Linked DNA regions of Homo sapiens: regions 2, 3, 4, 5, 6 and 7 are each linked to region 1. Evidence: promoter capture Hi-C in 16 types of primary human blood cells and fetal thymus (Javierre and others, 2016). All regions are on one chromosome and are shown on one strand. Each heading gives the region's core, a stretch centred on a gene start or on the middle of the fragment in contact. The rest is flanking DNA. Distances are from core to core; before and after follow the strand shown. Region 1 holds the start of TMED10 (transmembrane p24 trafficking protein 10). Region 2 overlaps BATF (basic leucine zipper ATF-like transcription factor). Region 3 overlaps TTLL5 (tubulin tyrosine ligase like 5). Region 4 overlaps FLVCR2 (FLVCR choline and putative heme transporter 2). Region 5 has its middle 27 kb from the start of BATF. Region 6 overlaps AREL1 (apoptosis resistant E3 ubiquitin protein ligase 1). Region 7 has its middle 8.7 kb from the start of FLVCR2.

What was found. Contacts are between HindIII fragments. The CHiCAGO score rates a contact against its expected background, and 5 or more counts as called.
Region 2: a fragment that was not itself captured here is called in contact with the fragment with the promoter of TMED10 in region 1 in 7 of 17 cell types (activated CD4 T cells, total CD8 T cells, megakaryocytes and 4 more); the score reaches 8.5 in activated CD4 T cells.
Region 3: a fragment that was not itself captured here is called in contact with the fragment with the promoter of TMED10 in region 1 in 1 of 17 cell types (activated CD4 T cells); the score reaches 5.0 in activated CD4 T cells.
Region 4: a contact is called between a fragment that was not itself captured here and the fragment with the promoter of TMED10 in region 1, in 2 of 17 cell types (M0 macrophages and monocytes). The highest score is 6.6, in M0 macrophages.
Region 5: a fragment that was not itself captured here is called in contact with the fragment with the promoter of TMED10 in region 1 in 5 of 17 cell types (M1 macrophages, activated CD4 T cells, neutrophils and 2 more); the score reaches 7.7 in M1 macrophages.
Region 6: a fragment that was not itself captured here is called in contact with the fragment with the promoter of TMED10 in region 1 in 1 of 17 cell types (fetal thymus); the score reaches 5.4 in fetal thymus.
Region 7: a contact is called between a fragment that was not itself captured here and the fragment with the promoter of TMED10 in region 1, in 1 of 17 cell types (activated CD4 T cells). The highest score is 9.6, in activated CD4 T cells.

The regions. Positions count from the first base shown.
Region 1 is chr14:75,175,187-75,177,887 of GRCh38, reverse strand. TMED10 (transmembrane p24 trafficking protein 10) reads left to right here and starts at 1,276. Exons shown (of 5, transcript NM_006827.6): 1 at 1,276-1,533. The coding sequence starts at 1,309. RefSeq lists enhancers at 1,126-1,365, 880-1,452. The HindIII fragment of the contact is 2,239 bases long and covers 1,110-2,701 here.
Region 2 is chr14:75,525,403-75,528,232 of GRCh38, reverse strand. The region is part of intron 2 of BATF (basic leucine zipper ATF-like transcription factor); the gene reads right to left. Among named protein-coding and RNA genes, the nearest start is that of BATF, 4.3 kb to the right of the region's middle. The HindIII fragment of the contact is 156 bases long and covers 1,282-1,437 here.
Region 3 is chr14:75,667,869-75,670,568 of GRCh38, reverse strand. TTLL5 (tubulin tyrosine ligase like 5) reads right to left here. Exons shown (of 32, transcript NM_015072.5): 3 at 1,047-1,153. Among named protein-coding and RNA genes, the nearest start is that of TTLL5, 8.0 kb to the right of the region's middle. The HindIII fragment of the contact is 5,520 bases long and covers 1-2,700 here.
Region 4 is chr14:75,607,790-75,610,489 of GRCh38, reverse strand. The region is part of intron 1 of FLVCR2 (FLVCR choline and putative heme transporter 2); the gene reads right to left. It also overlaps the pseudogene RNA5SP387. Among named protein-coding and RNA genes, the nearest start is that of FLVCR2-AS1, 30 kb to the right of the region's middle. The HindIII fragment of the contact is 750 bases long and covers 1,012-1,761 here.
Region 5 is chr14:75,547,566-75,550,422 of GRCh38, reverse strand. No RefSeq gene overlaps it. Among named protein-coding and RNA genes, the nearest start is that of BATF, 27 kb to the right of the region's middle. RefSeq lists an enhancer at 1,016-1,265. The HindIII fragment of the contact is 3,328 bases long and covers 1-2,857 here.
Region 6 is chr14:74,707,224-74,710,093 of GRCh38, reverse strand. The region is part of intron 1 of AREL1 (apoptosis resistant E3 ubiquitin protein ligase 1); the gene reads left to right. Among named protein-coding and RNA genes, the nearest start is that of AREL1, 4.4 kb to the left of the region's middle. The HindIII fragment of the contact is 3,826 bases long and covers 1-2,870 here.
Region 7 is chr14:75,568,526-75,571,225 of GRCh38, reverse strand. No RefSeq gene overlaps it. Among named protein-coding and RNA genes, the nearest start is that of FLVCR2, 8.7 kb to the left of the region's middle. The HindIII fragment of the contact is 1,553 bases long and covers 544-2,096 here.

The DNA.
Region 1 (2,701 bases), core at 27-2,526:
CCGGGTTCAAGCAATTCTCTGCCTCAGCCTCCTGAGTGGCTGGGATTACAGGCGCCCGCCACCAAGCCCAGCTAATTTTTTTGTATTTTTAGTAGAGACGGGGTTTCACCATCTTGGCCAGGCTGGTCTTGAACTCCTGACCTCGTGATCCACCCGCCTCAGCCTCCCAAAGTGCTGGGATTACAGGTGTGAGCCACCGCGCCTGGCCGTTTATTTTAATATATTCTTCAGCTCTGAATATTTGCTAGTATCCCAGTAATAGTTTGTTAAATCAATAAACGTGTTGACATACATGCATAGCATAATGTCTGGCACACAGTAGGTACTCCATTGAATGAATGCATGAATTATTACCGTGTCAATTTGCTTGTCTATTTGCAAATGTTAATAGTTAATTTGATCCCTAAAGTGTTTGTGAACTTAAAACACACACATACGCACTTTCCCTGACAACGCTTATCTGCTAACCCCTTAATTATGTTCATCTGAGACTGGACCAAAACATGTTGTTTTATTCAATTTAAATACCAAATTCAAATTTATTTTGAATATAGCTTAGAACACATTCAATGTTTGCTAAAATAATAATAATAATAATAATAATAATAATAATAATAATACCATGTACATTCAGTTAGCCAGACAATTACTCCAGCCCAAATACCCTGCTATGGGACATGAACCGGATGTCTGCCCGGCACACATTCATCAGGTGACCCCTAAAACTTCTTCTCTAAGGTCCACACTGTCTAATAGCCAAGTTGAAATCTTTCCTCGAAATTTTCCTCTCTAGTGTCTCAGTGCCCCAGGTGTCATCAAGGTGTCAAAGGCGCTTGGGAGTGCCTGCAAACCGCCCCATCCCCGGAGACACAGCCTCATTCCCCGCCCTCGCGCCTAGGCGGCCGGTGGGCGGGCCCAGCGAAGGGCCTTGTGGCTGTTTCCTATTGGGGCTTGGTTGCTATGGTGTCACTCGCCTTTAAACTCGTGGGTACATCTTTCGGAAATTAAAGGAGAATTACTTCCAGGGCTGCCCATACTTGCCATGGCCGACTCAGTAGTCACTAACTTCAACAAAAATAAAACTGTTGCAATAGTATTCTATTAAAGCTTCTTTAACTGCTTAAACTTGCGGTTTTGACATGGTACCTATCCTTTCTTCCCTTTTCAAAAGATTCGCTATAGAGTCTTTCTCTACATGCCAGTCTCCAAAATGGCGCGGACGGCATCAGAAGGTCAGAGGTGAGTCACGTGGGTCCCCCCGGTTCCGGCGCGGTTGAGGCCTTCGGTGGTGAACGAGTCTCCAGCACCATGTCTGGTTTGTCTGGCCCACCAGCCCGGCGCGGCCCTTTTCCGTTAGCGTTGCTGCTTTTGTTCCTGCTCGGCCCCAGATTGGTCCTTGCCATCTCCTTCCATCTGCCCATTAACTCTCGCAAGTGCCTCCGTGAGGAGATTCACAAGGACCTGCTAGTGACTGGCGCGTACGAGATCTCCGACCAGTCTGGGGGCGCTGGCGGCCTGCGCAGCCACCTCAAGGTGCGGCATTGGGCGACGTGGGGCCGGGAGGGAAGACGGCAGGCTTAGGCGAGGGGAGGCTCGGGTTCGGGGGAGTCGGGCCGGCGGAGGCCTGGGAGTTGTTCTGGCCTCCCGGGAGCGCAAAGGACGTGCGGTGGAGCCCGCCCCCTCACCCCGCTGGTTGCCTGTCGCGGGGCGGGGCGGGTCACCAACGCCTGGGAACCCCAAGAAGGGCTGCGAGGCTTTGGCGGATGTGGTGACACCTGAGCTGGGGCGGTTGTCAACGTCCTATACCAGTTTTGGTCTCAGATACATTGAACCGTAATTTGGTTCTCCAAATAAATGTTGGGGTGTTGAATATTTATACGGATTGGCATCATAAGATACCGCGATACCTGCAGGAAAGTAAAGGAGACAGAGCTAACCGTGATTAATAAAATGTTATTTATTGAGCATCTGCTGTGTCAGTTACTGTGCTACTTTGCATATATTACCATTTGGTTCATGCACTACCCTATGAAGTAGGTAGGTACTGTTAGCCCCATTTTACAAATGAGGAAACTGAGACTCAGAGGTAGGATAAACTAGTAAGTGTCACAGATGGAATAGATTCTTTTTTTTTTTTCAAAATTATTATTATACTTTAAGTTCTAGGGTACATGCGCACAACTTTCAGGTTTGTTACATATGTATACATGTGCCGTGTTGGTGTGCTGCACCCATTAACTCGTCATTTACATTAGGTATGTCTCCTAATGCTATCCCTCCCACCTCCCCCCACCCCACGACAGGCCCCGGTGTGTGATGTTCCCCACCCTGTGTCCAAGTGTTCTCATTGTTCAATTCCCACCTATGAGTGAGAACATGCGGTGTTTGGTTTTCTGTCCTTGCGATGGAATAGATTCTTACTTAGTTTGGTAGTTAAGTATGTTGAGGGAAAAGCGCTGCAACCTTATTCCTTCCTTGTTTTAAATTTGTAATTTCTGTAGTTGATTAAAGTCGATTATTGGTTACAAAATGGTCTCAGTCTCTAGTCCTTTTTCTTTGGTATGCCAGAATCTGGACTTGGCTCTTTTATGTAAATACCAACTATGCTCTTGGATGGTGACAACTACTGCCATAATACCAGTTTGATTCTGTTTTGTAGCTAAGAGTAGCCTGGCCTGGTCTTTGAGACATTAATATAATT
Region 2 (2,830 bases), core at 110-2,609, 350 kb before region 1:
CTCTCAGTAGCTCCCAAACCCTCATCTGTAAAGCACTGGTAGGCGAGGCCTATGGCCATGTCTGAGGGCCAGAGAACAACCCCAGCATGTGGAGCCAAGCATGGAAAGGAGTCAAGGGCAAACCACACACTGAGCCCTGACACTGGTGGTAAACCAGAAGACTTTTCACCTGAATCTCAGACATAATTAAGAGGATAATGGATGGAGAAGATAGGTGATTGTCATCTCGGAGGAAAGGAAGATGTCAAACCACAGCTAATTTGATGTAGGGCAGATTGAACACGTTGCTGCCAAAAGCTTCTACCTGAAGCCAAGAAACATAAGTTGCATTGGCAGCAGTCCGCAGGCTTGCTGCATCAACTCCGCTGCGACCTACTCATTGGGCAAAAGGTAAAGACGATGCTGTGGTGCTCAAAAGAAAGCAGTGGAGGAGGAATCTGTGTTCAGATGTGGGGAAGATTGGAACATTCTAGAAACTGAGGCTGGGGTGTGGCTATGGATATGTTGACTATATGACTTGGGGCTCTGTGGACCCTCAAGCTCTAGAGATTACCCTAATGTCACATGACTTGTATAATTAGATGAGCTGACTCTTTGGGCTCTGACATTTGTCTTGGAGAGGGAGAGAGCTGATTCAGTGCTGAAAGCCTTGCCGCAGCAAAGAGACATCTGTGTCACCCTCATTAATACGTTCCCCAAGGGTTTGGATGAAGACCAGTGAGTTGAATTTACAGGGAGACAGGGGTGCAGCTTAACATAGGAAAGACTCTTCTGTTCATAAATTGGGAGAGAGGAAGATCTCCAGCCCTAGAAGTGACCAGGCATACAATGGGACCATTGGCTGGAGGTGTTGCAGAGAAGTCTGAAGCATCAAACTTATGTCTAAACTTTCTAGCCTTTAAGAAACCTTTCAACCCTGAGCTTCTGTGATTAAATATACACAAAATGTATATATGTTTTCATATATATATAAAATGTGTGTATAATTTGTGATTATCTTGCTTCTTATGATAATTATTATTACTCTTATTATACTTAAATTTTTGAGTATTTATGAATGACAGGCATTGTGTTGGGCTCTTTAAATGTACGATCTGTATAGGGTAGTTATTGTCATTTTCCATTTTCTAGATAAGGAAACCAAGCCCAAGGGAGGCCAAGAACGTCTCTGTCACACAGATAGTAGGCAGCAGGGCTGGGATTCAATCCCTGTTCTGACTGCTGAGCTGCCGAACTATACTTACATTCCACTTAAGAAAACAGGTACACACTTAAAAAGCTTACAGCAGTTTGCCAGTCTGAGGACATTGTCTACTTGTACACAAGGAAGATTTTATCCTTTTAAATTTTGATTGGTCTGTTTGCTTGCCCTAAAGAATAGTGAATCAGAATCAGACTCTGATAGAGAAAGAGGTAAGGATCATAGATGTTCAAGCTTAAGGTGGTAAACCAGAATGTGGGGACACAGTGAAATCATGGAGAACATACAAGCAGCAGGGCCACCAAAAACTTGACATTCAGACTGTTGAGCACAGTTAGTACAGACTTTCTGTTCATTCATTCTTTCCAAAAAGTTAACAAATAGCTGTGAATTTAATGTTAGTGTGCAATGGAGTGTAAGCTGAATACATTTCAAATAAAACCCAAGCACCCAATCAGAGCTGTTGGTGCAGTCTGCTCTGTTTCCTTGTAAAGCTGAAAGATGCATTATTTCCCCTAAAACTACATCTTACTTACTTATTCTTGATACGGTTAACACAGCCATTCTAACTGGCTGATTATCATGCTAATCTTCCAGATAAATACAAGCTTATTGATTTTTGGTGCCAATTGCACTTTTTCCATGGAAAGGAATTGCTAGGCTATTAGAGGTAAGGGAATGTTTCTGGAGCAAGGGCAGGAAGGTAGAGTTGCTAGGGAAGGGGATGAGGGGATGGAGAGAAAGGAACTAGTGAAGAGTTGGTTGAACAAGAACCATACTGGGGGCAGAGTGAAGAGAGGTAAGGTGGTAAGGTATGAGCAATGGGGAGGAAGCAGTACTTTATAAGGGGCACAGCCAGAACCTAGAAACACCATCTAGGGCCTTGGCCACTGGCGGAACTGCAGTTCAGCACTGCTCAAGGCCCCTGGACCACTCAAGACAGAGGTAAAAGCTTTCTCTAGAAAAATTTGGGACTAGAGGCAACTCAACTAGGATGGTGATCATCCCAGATAAGGGCACTTGAAATTGCATCTTTCATAGACCCCTTGGGATACCATTAAAGACAGAAATTTCAAAATAAGACTTTAATAATGCTCTGAAAAGAGGAATCTGGTACAGCGCCCTGTGAATTTCCTTGTGTCAAATGCAGGGGCATTTGGGTCTCTGCCAAGGGATGCGACTATGTGTGGTCCTTGCACTGCGAGACAATGGGCCGTCCCCAAAGCACTTGATACCTTCTAAATTCTTTCCCAATACAGCTCTGCCTTCTCCCACCCCTTGAGCCCTCCTGGGGTAGAAAGGCCCATTTCTCTGTTCAGCCTCCTGGCCCATTCCCTGCTACAGAGCCTTCTATTTTTTTTTTTTTTTTTTTGAGATGAAGTTTCACTCCTATCACCCAGGTTTGAATGCAATGGCGCGATCTCGGCTCACTGCAACCTCTGCCTGTTCAAGTGATTCTCCTGCCTCAGCCTCCCAAGTAGCTGGGACTACAGGCATGCACCACCATGCCTGGCTAATTTTTTGTATTTTTAGTAGAGACGAGGTTTCACCATGTTGGCCAGGCTGGTCTCGAACTCCTGACCTCAGGTGACCCACCCGCCTTGGCCTCCCAAAATGCTGGGATTACAG
Region 3 (2,700 bases), core at 119-2,618, 490 kb before region 1:
GGATGTGGAGAAACTGGAACCCCTATACGTTGTTGACGGGAATGTAAAACGGTACAGCTGCTATGGAAAACAGTTTGACACGGAATAAGTTAAACACAGAATTACCATATGGCCTAGCAATTCCATTCCTAGGTATACCCCAAAGAACTGAAGATTAAGTGTCCAAACGACTTTTCCGTGAACATTCATAGCAGCACAATTCACAACAGACAAAAGGTGGAAAAAGGCCAGACACAGTGGATTATGCATGTAACCAAGGCAGGATTGCTTAAGGCCAGGAGTTTGAGACCAACATAGGCAACACAGTGAGATCCTGTATCTAAAAAATAAATAAATTTTAAAAACAAAATTAAAAAAAAAGGTGGAAACAAAAAAAATGTACATCAACTGATGACTGGATAAACAAAATGTGGTGTATCATTGGAATGCATTCATTAGCATATACAATGGAATGTTATTCAGCTATAAAAAGGAATAAAGGACTGATATATACTCCAACATGGATGAACCTCAAAAACATTATGCTAAGTGAAAAGAAGCCTGCCAAAAAAGGTCACATATCACATGACTCCATTTATATAAAACATCCAGAATATGGGAATCTATAAAAACAGAAAATAGATGAGTGGTTGCCAGGGACTGGTGGTATGGGGGCTGGGGATATCTGCTTAATGGGTATTGGCTGTACTTTGGAGATGATGAAAATGTTCTGGAACTAAACAGTGGTGACGGCTGCACAACATTGTGAATGTACTAAACAACAACGACTTGTACACTCTAAAATGGTTAAAATGGTAAATTTTGTTAGGTGTATTTTACCACAATTAAAAAAAAAACACATGTACACAATATTCTTGAAAAAAAATCAGAGGAAAAACATAAGCAGAAAACAATTTAAGAAATTATAATGTTTGAAGTATAACAACTCAATTGATTTTTCTCATGGCCAAGGCCCTTTCCCTATATATATGTCATATCAACTTCTTTAAGACAAGGACGTCTGGGCCATGCCCAGCTCCGTCCTCTGTGGGAGAGGTTATACGCACCTCCAATTACTCTAATATTGTTGTCCTTTGTAAGAATAGCGTCGGCATGGAATACCAAAACTGGAATTCTCCTGCAGCCTCCAGTCCACATGATGCATGGATGATCCCTATAACGACAAAAAAGCCTTCATTAATTTACAGCTCAAAACCTGAACTAACTGCTGATGCAGATTACTATGGTTTGTTGCTTAGCAAGTTTCCCCTTCCTTCTGGAATACAAATCCCAAATATCCTGTGGGAAATCACATCTCCCATTCTTAGCTGTGTGTTTAAAATTAACTCTATCCCTGGTTCAGGGATGGGCCTTGATTGGTTTCAGCCAATCAAGATACTTCATCATCCAGTATAATTAGTGGTTCAGAGATAGGCACATAAACCAATTGGAGCCCATAAGTTTAAGGAGACATGTTCTGGACTCTGTGAGAAAGCAATGGTTTCTTTCTCTTCTATAATGGCTACAGATGATAGCCTGTCTTCCTCTTGATGGTATAGGATGAGAATGAGAAGTCTGGAAGGGCAACAACCATTTTGTGACCTTGAAAGAAGAGCCTGTAGCTGTTGGTGAAGGAGAAAGTCAGCAGGAGGTTGACTGAAGAGATAAAGTGGGATTTTCAGAATCAAGATATGCCTGAATATGAGTGAAAGTATTCTCTTTATTACTTAGGACCATTTGGATTATGTTGTAATCCTTTGCACACATAAAGAATCCTAACTGATGAGTTCACAATAATTTACATACTCCTTTTACACGCTATAGTCCATTTTCAAGCCAATTTGATGATGCATCCTAAGACTCTGAACTAGGAACTCTAAATTAATACAAGTATCCCAATTAAAATCACATATTTTAAAGGAAGCCCATGCTAAATGGAACAATATATATTTTCCTCCAGTATAAAACCACAGGGGAGAAAAAGACCTCTGACTTTATTCTCTTTCCCTATCCTCAGGAAATCTCAGCTTAATTTTAGGCTGATGAATATTTACTCACAGATCAGAAAAACCTTCACCCTCATTAGGGCAGGGAGGTAGGAAGAGAAATAAAATTAAATGAACTGAGTCCCTACTATGTGCCAGGATTTAAACTAAGAGCTCTCATATCTCACTTAATCCCCCTGCCCATACTATGAACTGCAGGAAAACTGTCTCAGAAAGGTTAAGTAACCTGCCTAAGGTCATATAGCTGGTTAAGTAAGGGATGAGGTATTTGAACCTAACATCTGTATTCTTTCTACTGTTTGCCTCCCTAATCGCATTTCAGCAAAGTTGTATATATTGGATACCTTGAATTCAATTATTTGGGAACTTAAACTGATAATTCCTTAAATGCAATACAATCCACTTGGCCAAGATTCACTCGACTCTTAAAAACTCACATAACCACATCCCTTAACAAAGGTCATACCACAAATCTCAGGGCCAAGTCAGCCCCTCCCAATCCAACTTTAAAAAGATCCACACTCGGGCCGGACACGGTGGCTCACGCCTGTAATCCCAGCACTTTGGGAGGCCGAGGCAGACAGATCACGAGGTCAAGAGATCGAGACCATCCTGGCCAACATGGTGAAACCCCGTCTCTACTAAAAATACAAAAATTAGCTGGGTGTGGTGGCCCGCACCTGTAGTCCCAGCTACTCGGGAGGCTGAGGCAGAA
Region 4 (2,700 bases), core at 137-2,636, 430 kb before region 1:
TTTCACAAGGAAAGTTTTCTGATTAAAGAAAAAAAAAGGAACACTGACAAAGGCCGTGTTTTATTTTTTTAGCTAAGCCCGGTATTTATGCTTGCTTTCTGTCATCATGAACTCAGGAGCTTCCTGGCACACACTCCTCCTTTTAAGGACTTGGTGTTCCCCTTGAAGTTGTCCTCATGGTGAACTCCACAAAGGGCCAGCCTAGGTCTACTTTGGGTGCAGAAGTGAAGAATCCACTGCCTTTTCTTTCAGTGAGAGAACAAATCACTGTCACCTCAATACATTAATGTCCCTCTAGCTGACTGTGCTGAAAGCCAGTGGTCACAGAACTTCCCCATGACTCGGCTAGGAAGGAGGAAAAATGAGTGGGTGTCTTTCAAACCACCCGGCCAGCTGAGATCACATCAGATCACATCATGCAAATCTTACTCCAAAGTTTTCACATTTGAAGTAGGCGATGTGCAAAGCGCCATTCAAATGCTTTGGCACTGATTGCCCACCAATTCTGTCCCAGACACCAGCAATCAACAGCCAACAGAGGGATTCTCCGGTCTTCTGCATTCCCTTAACACTAACCCCCCATCTATCCCCCCCAACTCAAAGGTGCCACTCCCTGACCTTTGACAGATAAAACAGCCCAAAGGAGAATAATTGTCTCCTTTGTCTGCAAGGCAACATTCTGGCATTCCTAAAAGGGATGCTCACGTGACGACCAATGTTTCTAATCCTCCCATGTTTCCTTCTAAATCTGGATGGACTTTCTGGTAATAGCCCTCCTATTCTGATTTTTTCAGGGGTAAAACCCTGCCAATTACTTACTGGCAGGCCCTGGAAGAGTTGCTGCTTCATGGACTGCCATGGGCAAAACCCAGTTCCTCTGGAGCATGCACTTCAAGAAATAGATAGGATGGGACCCATGTAGCTTTTTCCTAAGAAGCCAACTTCATAAGTTAACTAAGCTTGCCTCAGGATCCCAGACAGACAGCTGGAAAGAAAAAGAAATCTCAAGCTTACACCAAAAAAACTATTAGTCACTCACATCTATAACGCCCTGAGAGAGAGAAAGAGAGAGATTGCAGCACCATTAGATCTGGCCCTGTTATTTAGGGAGTTACTCAGGGACCTGCTTAGCTAAAAACATCTCCTAATATCCTGCTTTGAAGTCACCCGCCCTCCTACTTGGGCTGACATTTGCACCATTAGCCGCTCCGGTGTGACTGGCTTATAGTGTAATCTCTCTTCCCTTCAATGTGAACTCTACAAGAACAGAGGGCTATTGCCAACAGGGACCTTCCCTTTCCCATTCATTGCTGCATCCCCAGCTGTGAAAATGTTTGTTGTTTGGCACAGAGTAGATGCTCAATAATATTTGTTCAATAAATAAAATAAAGGCTATGGTGCATTGTCTAAAAAAAAAACACATGACAGGCCAAGGGGAGGAGGGCCTTCTTTAGTGGCTTTCATTTCTCTCATTGCCTGCTGTCAACTGGAAAGACATAGGGAAGCTGGCTGGAGGGGATGCAATTCAGGACAAGCAGGATTCAAGGAACTTGTTGTAGAACAGAGACAAAGATGTGATAGCCAGGGGACTGTGTGGGTTATTTGCAAGGGACAGAGGTCTGGCCCAGGATGGGGGCACACTAATAAAGGACATGGCTTTTGGTGGGGCAGCATGAGAATACGGGGGCAGCCATACCCAGGGAAGACAATGAGGAACCTTCCTCCCTAAGGAGAGATATAAGAATTCTGGAGAGAGAAGCTTGTCGAACGGAAACTGCAACATCTTCCTAAGGGTTCCAACATCTTCACAAGGGCTGTCCAAGCCCTACCGATCCCCATTTGTTACCATCGATCATTGCCACTTGCTAACTGTGAGGGGCTGCGAGAAAACTTGGTAGGGCCAGGACCACCATGCCCTCAGGATAAAACTTCTCCCTCCCAGGCCTATGTCCTGAGGGTGGGGATGAATCAGTTCTGTGCTATGCCACCACAGCCATTTTCCTACACTGAAGAGAGGAACCATCTTAGGCACATATAGACTCAAACGTTGCATCGTGCCACTCCTGGCAAAAGGCCCCTCTGCAGCAAGCGGTCAGTTTCCTGGAATGAAAAAGAACCAGAATGCTCCACAGGATTCCTGGAGCCGCCGAACAGCTCAGCTCAAGAGGATCAAATCAGCAAGTATAGCTTCCTTTCTTTGCCGATGAGAGGAAGGCTTTGAAACCCAGAAGCTCTGAGAGAGTCTCCTACGGTAAGGATGATGGAGCTTATCCTGAACCATGAGCCGGTGTAAAGGCAGGAGTGCTGAGCCCTCTACATGGAGGGCATGGCCCCCAATCCAGGCAGGACACGATGTGTGTCTAGAGAAGCCCTTTTTATTCTACTGTCAAAGGGCAAGTCCAGAGTATTTTTTGATTTTTTAGATGAGAACTCACACTGTTGCCCAGGCTGGAGTGCAGTGGTGCAATTACTGCTCACTGTAACCTCAAACTCCTGGGCTCAAGTGATCCTCTCTAGCTCCCAAGTAGCTAGAACTACAGGCATGTGCCACCACACCCAACCAACTTTTTAACTATTTTTGTAGAGATAGAGTCTCACTATGTTGCGAAGACTGGCCTTAAACTCCTGGCATCAAGTGATTCTCCCACCTCAACCTCCCTAAGTGCTAGGATTACAGGTGTGAACCACCACACCGAGCCC
Region 5 (2,857 bases), core at 356-2,855, 370 kb before region 1:
CCTGTAATCCCAACATTTTGGGAGGCTGAAATGAGAGGATGGCTTGAGGCCAAGAGTTCAAGATCAGTCTGGGCAATATAATGAGATCCCCTTGCTACAGAAAAATGAAAAAAACAAAAATAAAAAAATAGCTGGGTGTGGTGGCATGCCCCTGTAGTCCCAGCTACTTGGGAGGCTGAGGTGGAAGGATTGCTTGAGCCCAGGAGGTCGAGGCTGCAGTGAGCTATGACAGCAGCTCTGCACTCCAGCCTGGGCCACAGAGTGAGACCTTGTCAGAAAAGAAAGAAAGAAAAGAAGAAAAGAAGAGAGAAAGAGAGAAAGAAAGAAAGAAAGAAAGAAAGAAAGAAAGAAAGCAAAAAGAAAGGAGGAAAGAAAGGAAGAAAGGAATAAGAAAGGAAAAAAAGGAAGGAAGGAAGAAAGAAAGAAAAAAAGAAAGAAGGAAGGGAGGGAGGGAAGGAGGGAGGGAGGAAGGGAAGGAAGGAGGGAGGGAGGGAGGAAGAAAGGGAAGGGAAGAAAAAAAGAATTGAGAGATTTCATGTAGAAATTCTGATTTTGGCTTTTCTTGACAAACTGGAAGACATGGCAAGCCCAGGCCTAAATTCCCACATGGCACCATGGGAGAGAACTGAACGACAGACAGCTGCACACTCTCCTTAGTTTGCCACATTCTCCACCACTCCCAATTGCCCTACATCCAGTGGGTCCCATGCTTTCACAGTGCCTGCCTGGGTAGAAGGCGTTTGAGTGTGGGTCAAGTGGCCCACCAGACTGAGGGAGCCATCCCTGTCATGGGTAGAAGGCTGGGACAGAACCTGGTTGGTGAAACATCCAAGGTTAAAGCTACGGATGTTCAAATTTCTATTCATGGCTGCCTCTCCAATTTGCCTGCATGGACATGAAGTCAGCCTTGGCACCAGCTCCAGGCTCAGCTACCTGCTACCTCTACCGGGCTGACTAGACAGGAGAAGTGGAACTGCCTGGGGTCAGTAGAAAGTAGAGAATGAAAGGGGAAGAGAAGTCCTTGCTGAGAGATGGGAACCGTGCACGTGAACTCTGCTTTTCTAGTTCTGGCCCTGAATGTCATTCAGAAGATGCCGGCAGAAGTCATGTGCCTTCTGTGGGGGTTTCTGGGGAAAATCACAGTGCTAGAGCATGGGTGGAGATGAAAATCTCTGATTCAAAGAAAGCCTGCCCACAAGAGGCCAGGCCCTGGCAGAGATAGTAGCAAAGAAAGCTGGACTCAAAGTTCTACGTCTTTAGATCGTGAAAGAAGGCCAGGTGCAATGGCTCATGCCTGTAATCCCAACACCTTGGGAAGCTGAGGTGGGAGGATCGCTTGAGTGTGGGTAGTCAAGGCTGCAGTGAGCCATGATTGCACCACTGCACTCCAGCCTGGGTGACAGAGTGAGACCGTGTCTCAAAAAAAGAAAAAATAATAATTATGAAAGAAAAATGAATTATATTTTATGACTGCAACATCTGAAGTGAAGATCGGCTTCTTTGCTCTTCTCGTTAACAGAGGGGTGGGAAAGAGCTAGACAGAGCGTTAGCTACCAAAATCCAGGTTCTGAAGGAAATTAAGAAAGCTCCTCCTCATGACACATCTGCCCAGTCCACATGGAGGCTCTGCACTGAAAGGGGAGCCTGTTTTGCCACGTTTCGTTGGGAGACCAAAGGTTACAATGCAAGATTCTGTGCTGGGAGAAATGCCAGCACTCAGGGAACGTCTTCTGGGCTGTCTTCCCAGGCTCTGAATTACGGGGCTCAGCCCAGTGTCCACATCCTAGGCTCCCATGGGCACCAGCTTCTCTGGTGAGAGCCCCAAAGATTGCAATGTGCCATCAGAGGCTGTTGGGTTGGACTCCTCCCAAGGGGCTGTGACCCCACCACCTGCTGGGATGCAGCTCATCCAAACTTCTATGGCATTTAATAATCACAATAGCCCAACACTGGCATCATCTGAGAGGGGCAGGAGAGACACACACAGGGGAGGTCTAGAGTTGAAACTTGGCCTCAAACCGGCCAGAGTGGTTGGCCAGCGGGTTCAGGGGGCACTGACACAGGGAAGCAGGACTTCTCCTCCCTTCTGTCACCCCATGAGGGATGCCACCGGGGAGGCAGCAGGCAGAGGCTGTCCCTCTAAAGGACAAATGGATGAGACTGAGGGTGGCTACTGAAGGAGCTCAATCAGGTGGGCGCCTGGCACAATGATCTCCGTTGCTTTTGTCTCCAGCTGGCTCAGCAGGGGTTGTGTGTGGCCAGGCCCTGCTGCAGGCTTTGCTCGTGGGCAGTGGTGTGGGTAAGGCTGTGTCAGGCAGGCCAGCAGGCACTTGGCCTGGGGATCTCTGAAGAGCAGGGGGGTGGAGCATGCTGGTTTCAGGCTCTGCCAAACTGAAGATGACCCTGTGTTCCCTGAGCCCTCAAAGTGCTCAAATGGCAGCCTGCGGAGCCCTGCGGGGACAGGACAAGTCCTGTGCTCTGTATCACCGCCTTCTAAGGGAGGTGGAGTCTTCAGCAGGACATGTACACCACTGGCAGAGAAGTCCCTGTGGACCCAAGCTGCATGTTGCCCCTTGAGAGCATTAGGAAGACACCGCCTTCCATGTGAAGGGCAGCCTGGCACAGGGCCTGGTTGCAGCATCCGGAGACTTGGCTGTCAGGATGGAGCCAGTTGGCTGGGTGAGTGGAGTCATGAGTGGGAGACGAGAAGGTCAACCTGACTTACCACCTCACCAGGTGAGGCCATCCTGCACTGGGCCTTCTCCCGGACTAGGGGACAACCTGCTCATGGTCTAGAAAGCAGTGAAGAATGGAAGGTGGGAGGTCACCGTGAGGGGAGCATGGGAGGGCAATCCAG
Region 6 (2,870 bases), core at 194-2,693, 470 kb after region 1:
GATGGGAGCAGAAAGTAATTGCTTTTGGGCACATACTTGTGAGGAAAAGAAATGATTTTAGTCCTTCTCAGCAGTCAAGAGGGTTGTTTTGCATTTTTCTGCAGTCTTGAAGAGAAAAAATCACCCAAGGCATTGGACACACAGTTTGAACACATAATTGGGCTTGGACTTCATTCCATTCACTAATTGGTCTAACTTACTAATTTAAGTTGGTATCAAATTTCTTTGTAAAATTATTCTGGATAATGAAAGACTCCTTAAAGAACATCTTGTATTTCAATGTTAGAAAGTTATAAGTAGATTCACTTTTTTGTCCATTTTCAAGTTATAGTTTTTACATTTATTTTTCTGACTTACATGATAGGACTTTTTTTCTCCCAACAAACATTAGTCGCTGTTAATTATTTTTCAATTAACTTGCCTGCCCCTAAATGTGGTAGCATGGCATACAGCATGTTCTGCTTCTGAGGTCTTGATATTGAATTGGTTTGTAAGAATACCTCAGAGATAGATTACTGCCGCTTGGTCATTCATTCAGAAAGCATTTATTGAGGGCCCATTCTGTCCTGGGCAATCTCACCACAGTCCTGTATTACAGAAAGACTTGTAAATAGGTAAAGTATGGTTGGTGGCTGAATAGAGATGTGGGAGTTGAAATATTTTAGAGGAATTACTCTTCTTGTTCATCTTTCTGTAAGTGGTCCAGGTCAGAGTACTGTTGTGTAATATTTATTTAATACTATCAACATATTAGTACCATGTAATAGATCAGATTTTATGACCTTAATGGACTCTAGTGTATCATTTTACCTTTTATTTATTATTTATTAGATCTTGCTATGTTGCCCAGGCTGATCTTGAACTCCTGGCCTCAAGCCATCCTCCCACCTCAGCTTCCTGAGTAGCTGGGAGAAGAGGCATGAGCCACTGTGCCTGACCGTTTTACCTTTTAAATGACTTTAGCTATTAACTAACTTGGGTTTAAATTTCAGTTATTTTTCTTTGGTTTCTTTTTCTTTGAAGGGTTCTGAATGCTTAGCCTTCACTAATGTTCTTTCATATAGTAGTTTTCAAACTTTTGAGGTTGTTTAACCTTATTGCAGTTTGTGTGTATGTATGTGTGTGTACACACACGCATGCCTGAGCTGTTGATATGGTGTTACAGCACCATAGTGATGTTTTCCTGGTGGCTCTTTTGAAGACTGTTCTACAAGATAGGGTTTATAGAGAAAGATGGGTATTCACTTAGCTATTAGAAACTAAATAGTCATGGTAGATACATGTTTTGTCATTTAGTCTAATTGAACGGTTCCATATGATTTTATGAGTTTTTGTTATCTTGAATAGTTGAGCAATTTGCATCATGTTTTTCAGAGCGAAGGCATTTATTTCAGTGCAGCTTGTTACTGTTGAGATGCCAATAGTTAACATCTGTTAATTGATTTTCTATATATTGTACTTTTTGGCCAGAGATTAGATAATTTATTAATATACAACATATTTTCTGTAATGTCCCCTTGCTTTTATCCAGAGACCCAGAGCATGTTATTTTAACCCCTCTCTTGTCCGCTTTGGGAAGTTCAAATTCAAGGTACCCCCGGTATATATGGTAAACCTATTAGGAACAGAAAACAGTTAAAACTTCCCAAGTGTGATCTAGTTTTTCATGTCTTGGTAAAGAAGAAATCCCAGGTGGGCTGTGCAAACAGTTCATAGAAAGGGGTTAAAAAAGATATTTAAAAAGTTTTAGGCTGGCATTACCTGAATTGGGGCAATGATTAGGGAGACATGATTAGAATTCTAAGGGGGAGTGAGAATGTAAAGGGGAGCACCATCTGTAATTAAATTGTTTTAAATTGTGGAATAATTTTAAATTTATAAAAAAGTTGCAAAGATAGTACAGAGTATTCCTGTATACCTTTCACCGGTGTCTCCTAATGTTAACTTCTTACATAACCATGGCACATACTGTCACATCTAAGAAATTAACATTGGTACAATACTATTACTAAACTATAGACTTTATTTGGATTTCACAAGTTTCTCCACTAATTTCCTTTTTCTATACCCAAACTGAATCTAGAATACCACATTCCAGTTAGATCATGTGTAATTTCTTTTTTTTTTTTTTTTTCTGAGGCGAAGGTCTCACTCTGTCGCCCAGGCTGGAGTGCAGTGGCGCCATCTCGGCTCACTGCAAGCTCCGCCTCCCGGGTTCACGCCATTCTCCCGCCTCAGCCTCCCAAGTAGCTGGGACTATAGGCGCCCGCCACCATACCCGTCTAATTTTTTTTTTTTTTTGAGACGAATCTCACTCTGTCGCCCAGGCTGGAGTGCAGTGGCGCGATCTCGGCTCACTGCAAGCTCCGCCTCCTGGGTTCACACCTTTCTCCTGCCTCAGCCTCCCAAGTAGCTGGGACTACAGGCGCCCACCACCACACCCAGCTAATTTTTTGTATTTTTAGTAGAGACGGGGTTTCACATGTTAGCCAGGAAGGTCTCGATCTCCTGACCTTGTGACCCACCTGCCTGGGCCTCCCAAAGTGCTGGGATTACAGGTGTGAGCCACTGTGCCCGGCCATTTTTTGTATTTTTAGTAGAGATGGGATTTCACCATTTTAGCCAGGGTGGTCTCGATCTCCTGACCTCGTAATCCGCCCACCTTGGCCTCCCAAAGTGCTGGGATTACCGGTGTGATCCACTGTGCCCGGCCTCTTTTTTTTTTAAAATGGAGTTTCGCTCTTGTCACCCAGGCTGGAGTGCAATGGCACCATTTTGGCTCACTGCCACTTCTGCCTCCTGGGTTCAAACTATTCTCCGGCCTCAGCCTCCCGAGTAGCTGGGATTACAGGCGCCTGCCACCACGCCTG
Region 7 (2,700 bases), core at 71-2,570, 390 kb before region 1:
AAAAAAAAAAGTTGCCCCATAAATATGAGAAAGAGCTAACTAAAAAACATGAGTCAAAGAGGAAGGAGACATTAAAATGGCTTGTCTTTTTGCATAATCTATAGAAAGCCCGGAGGTGTGAGGCTCCCTTTTCATAATGGAATAGAGAAACGGGGGTAGCAGCAAGATTTGTTGATTGCCAGGGCAACAGTTAAAGGCACATGGCATGACAAAGCAGAGGGGTGCTGGCTGGGCAGGGTTATGCAATGCTGGAGCCACAGTGACAGAGAAAGGACACACAAAGTCATCTCAGCCAGCCCCTTGATGTACAGGGTATAATACCTGGGCCCAGGGGACTGTCTTAACAGAGTCATTCATTTACCCACCATTGATCTCCTGCAGGCCAGGCACTGTGCTGGGTGTAAAGGAAACAAATTCAACAAAGATGAGGCTCTTGCCCTCCAAGAATCCACAAAGTAGTGGTGAGACAGTTATGTGAGCAGATCATTGCCAGGTGGTACAATAAATGTGTGGTCCATGCTGGTTCATGGGACTCCCAAAGCTTAGAGTCAAGGGGGGCTTCTCAGAGAGATGCTAGGTCGGGATCTTGAGGGATAGATGAGACTTAGCCAGGCCCTGTGGCAGGTGCTGAAGATCCTAGGAGTGAGCAAAACAAACGTGGTCCCTCCCTACCTTCATGGAGCTTACAGTGTCCTTGAGAGGACAAACATCAATCAAACACTTACATACACACATAAGTAAAATTATAAGTGCTATGAGGGTTATTTGTAAGAATTTATATAGATGGAACAGATGAGTGGGATCTTAAGCAATACGTTTTTAAAAAGTTAGACTTATGGCTCATGCTTGTAATCCCAGGACTTTGGGAGACTGAGGGGGCTGGATCACCTGAGGCCAGGAGTTCGAGACCAGCCTGGCCAACATGGTGAAACTCGGTCTCTACTAAAAATACAAAAAAAATTAGCCATGCATGGTGGCAGGTGCCTGTAGTCCCAGCTACTTTGGAGGCTGAGGCAGGAGGATCGCTTGAACCTGGGAGGCAGAGGTTGCAGTGAGCCAAGAGCATGCCACTGCACTCCAGCCTGGGTGACAGAGTGACTCCATCTCAAAAAATAAAAATAAAAATAAAATAAAAGTGAGACTTAACTTGGTGAAAGAGGGGGGAAGGGCTTTCCAGGAAGAGGGAACAGAATGTGCAAGGCCCTGAACCAGGAGGGAGCAGGGCCCTTTTAAGCCACAAAGCCAATGAGGCTGGAGCAGAGTGAGGGTGAGAAGCAAAGCCAACGTGGTTGGAGAGAGAGGCAGCAGCCAGATTGCACGGGCCTTATTGAGGGCTTTTCTGTTTTTGTTTGTTAACTTTATCCTGGGAGCAAAGGGGAGCCGTTGGGAGGTTTTAAGCAGATGAAGGACATTGTCAGATTTGTCTCCTGTACAGACTGCTCCAGCTGGGCTTGTGGCAAATCCAGTTTGGGTGGGGATGGCCCTCTTAGGAGGCTGCTATGGTCACTCAGGTGAGAATGGAATTTGTGAACTGAATGAGGGCAATGGCAAGACAATGGAGAGAAGTGAGCAGGGGTAGATGGGGGTGGACTAGACTGGAATTGCAGGAGGATGGAGAGGGAGGGGTCAGGAGAATGCCCTGCCTGGGTTTCAGATGTGACCAGCTGGGCAGATGGAGCTGCCATCTGGAGGGAGAATCCCAGCTTCGACATTGAGATCTTCCGCAGAGGGAAGCGAGGCTGTCAAGGACAGGTGCCTGTGTACCCGTGCCTCCTGCTCTTCTCTTCCTCCTCATTCCTTTATTCTTCCTTCTACCCCTTCCCTACAGTGACCTCTGTCACCACAAGATCAAGAGGCCAGAGAACCTACTTCCAATTCAGAGTGTGAATTCCCATGAAAATCCAATCATCAAATTCTATGGAAAGTAAGGCGTCCTGAGTTCCTCACCTCATCTTTCACTCCTTGGCATGGTGCCTCCTCAAGGTTACAGGTAGGACACTTGGCTCAGGTTCCCCTGAATTCTGTGAACAGAAGAATTAGAAATAAACAAACAATTCCAAAATAAAACCCAGATAGTTATGGGTTCCCTTTAAGCTTAAGTCAGTAGTTGTGTGAAGTCCCCCTGATGCCATCAGCCTCCCTGGGCCCCGAGTAGTCCCTGAAAGTGTGTTCTAGTGTCTCAGATGAGAAAACCGAAAGTGCTGACTGTACCCCCAGGTTTTTTTTTTCTTTTCACTGCTGAGTTGATTGCAAATGACAGACGCTCAGCTTTCATCAGCCTAAGCTCAGAGATAGTACATCTGAAGAACATCGGCGGCTGGGGGAGGTGAGGTTCTCAGAGACCTCAAGAGGAGTTGGTGGTCAAGTAGCAGAAGAGCAGAGAGAACCAAGGACTGCAACACATTCAGGATGCTCGGCTTCTCCCATGTTCCCTGCAGGCCAGCTTGCATTTTCTCTCTTCCTAAAGGCTAGTTTCTCCATTTGTCAGAAAACATGGCAGCCAGCAGCCCTGGCATTACACCTCATGACAGCTTCAGCTGCCCGAGAGAAGCTGCCCTTTGTGTCTTAAATACAAACTCCCAGATGCCCATTCCCAGCCTCATCAACCATGACCGTGGTGGCAAAGGCCGCATAAGAACAGGGCAGCTCCCCAGGGGGATCCGTATTGGAGTGGAGGAGGGGCAGTTCCCAGAAGGAGAG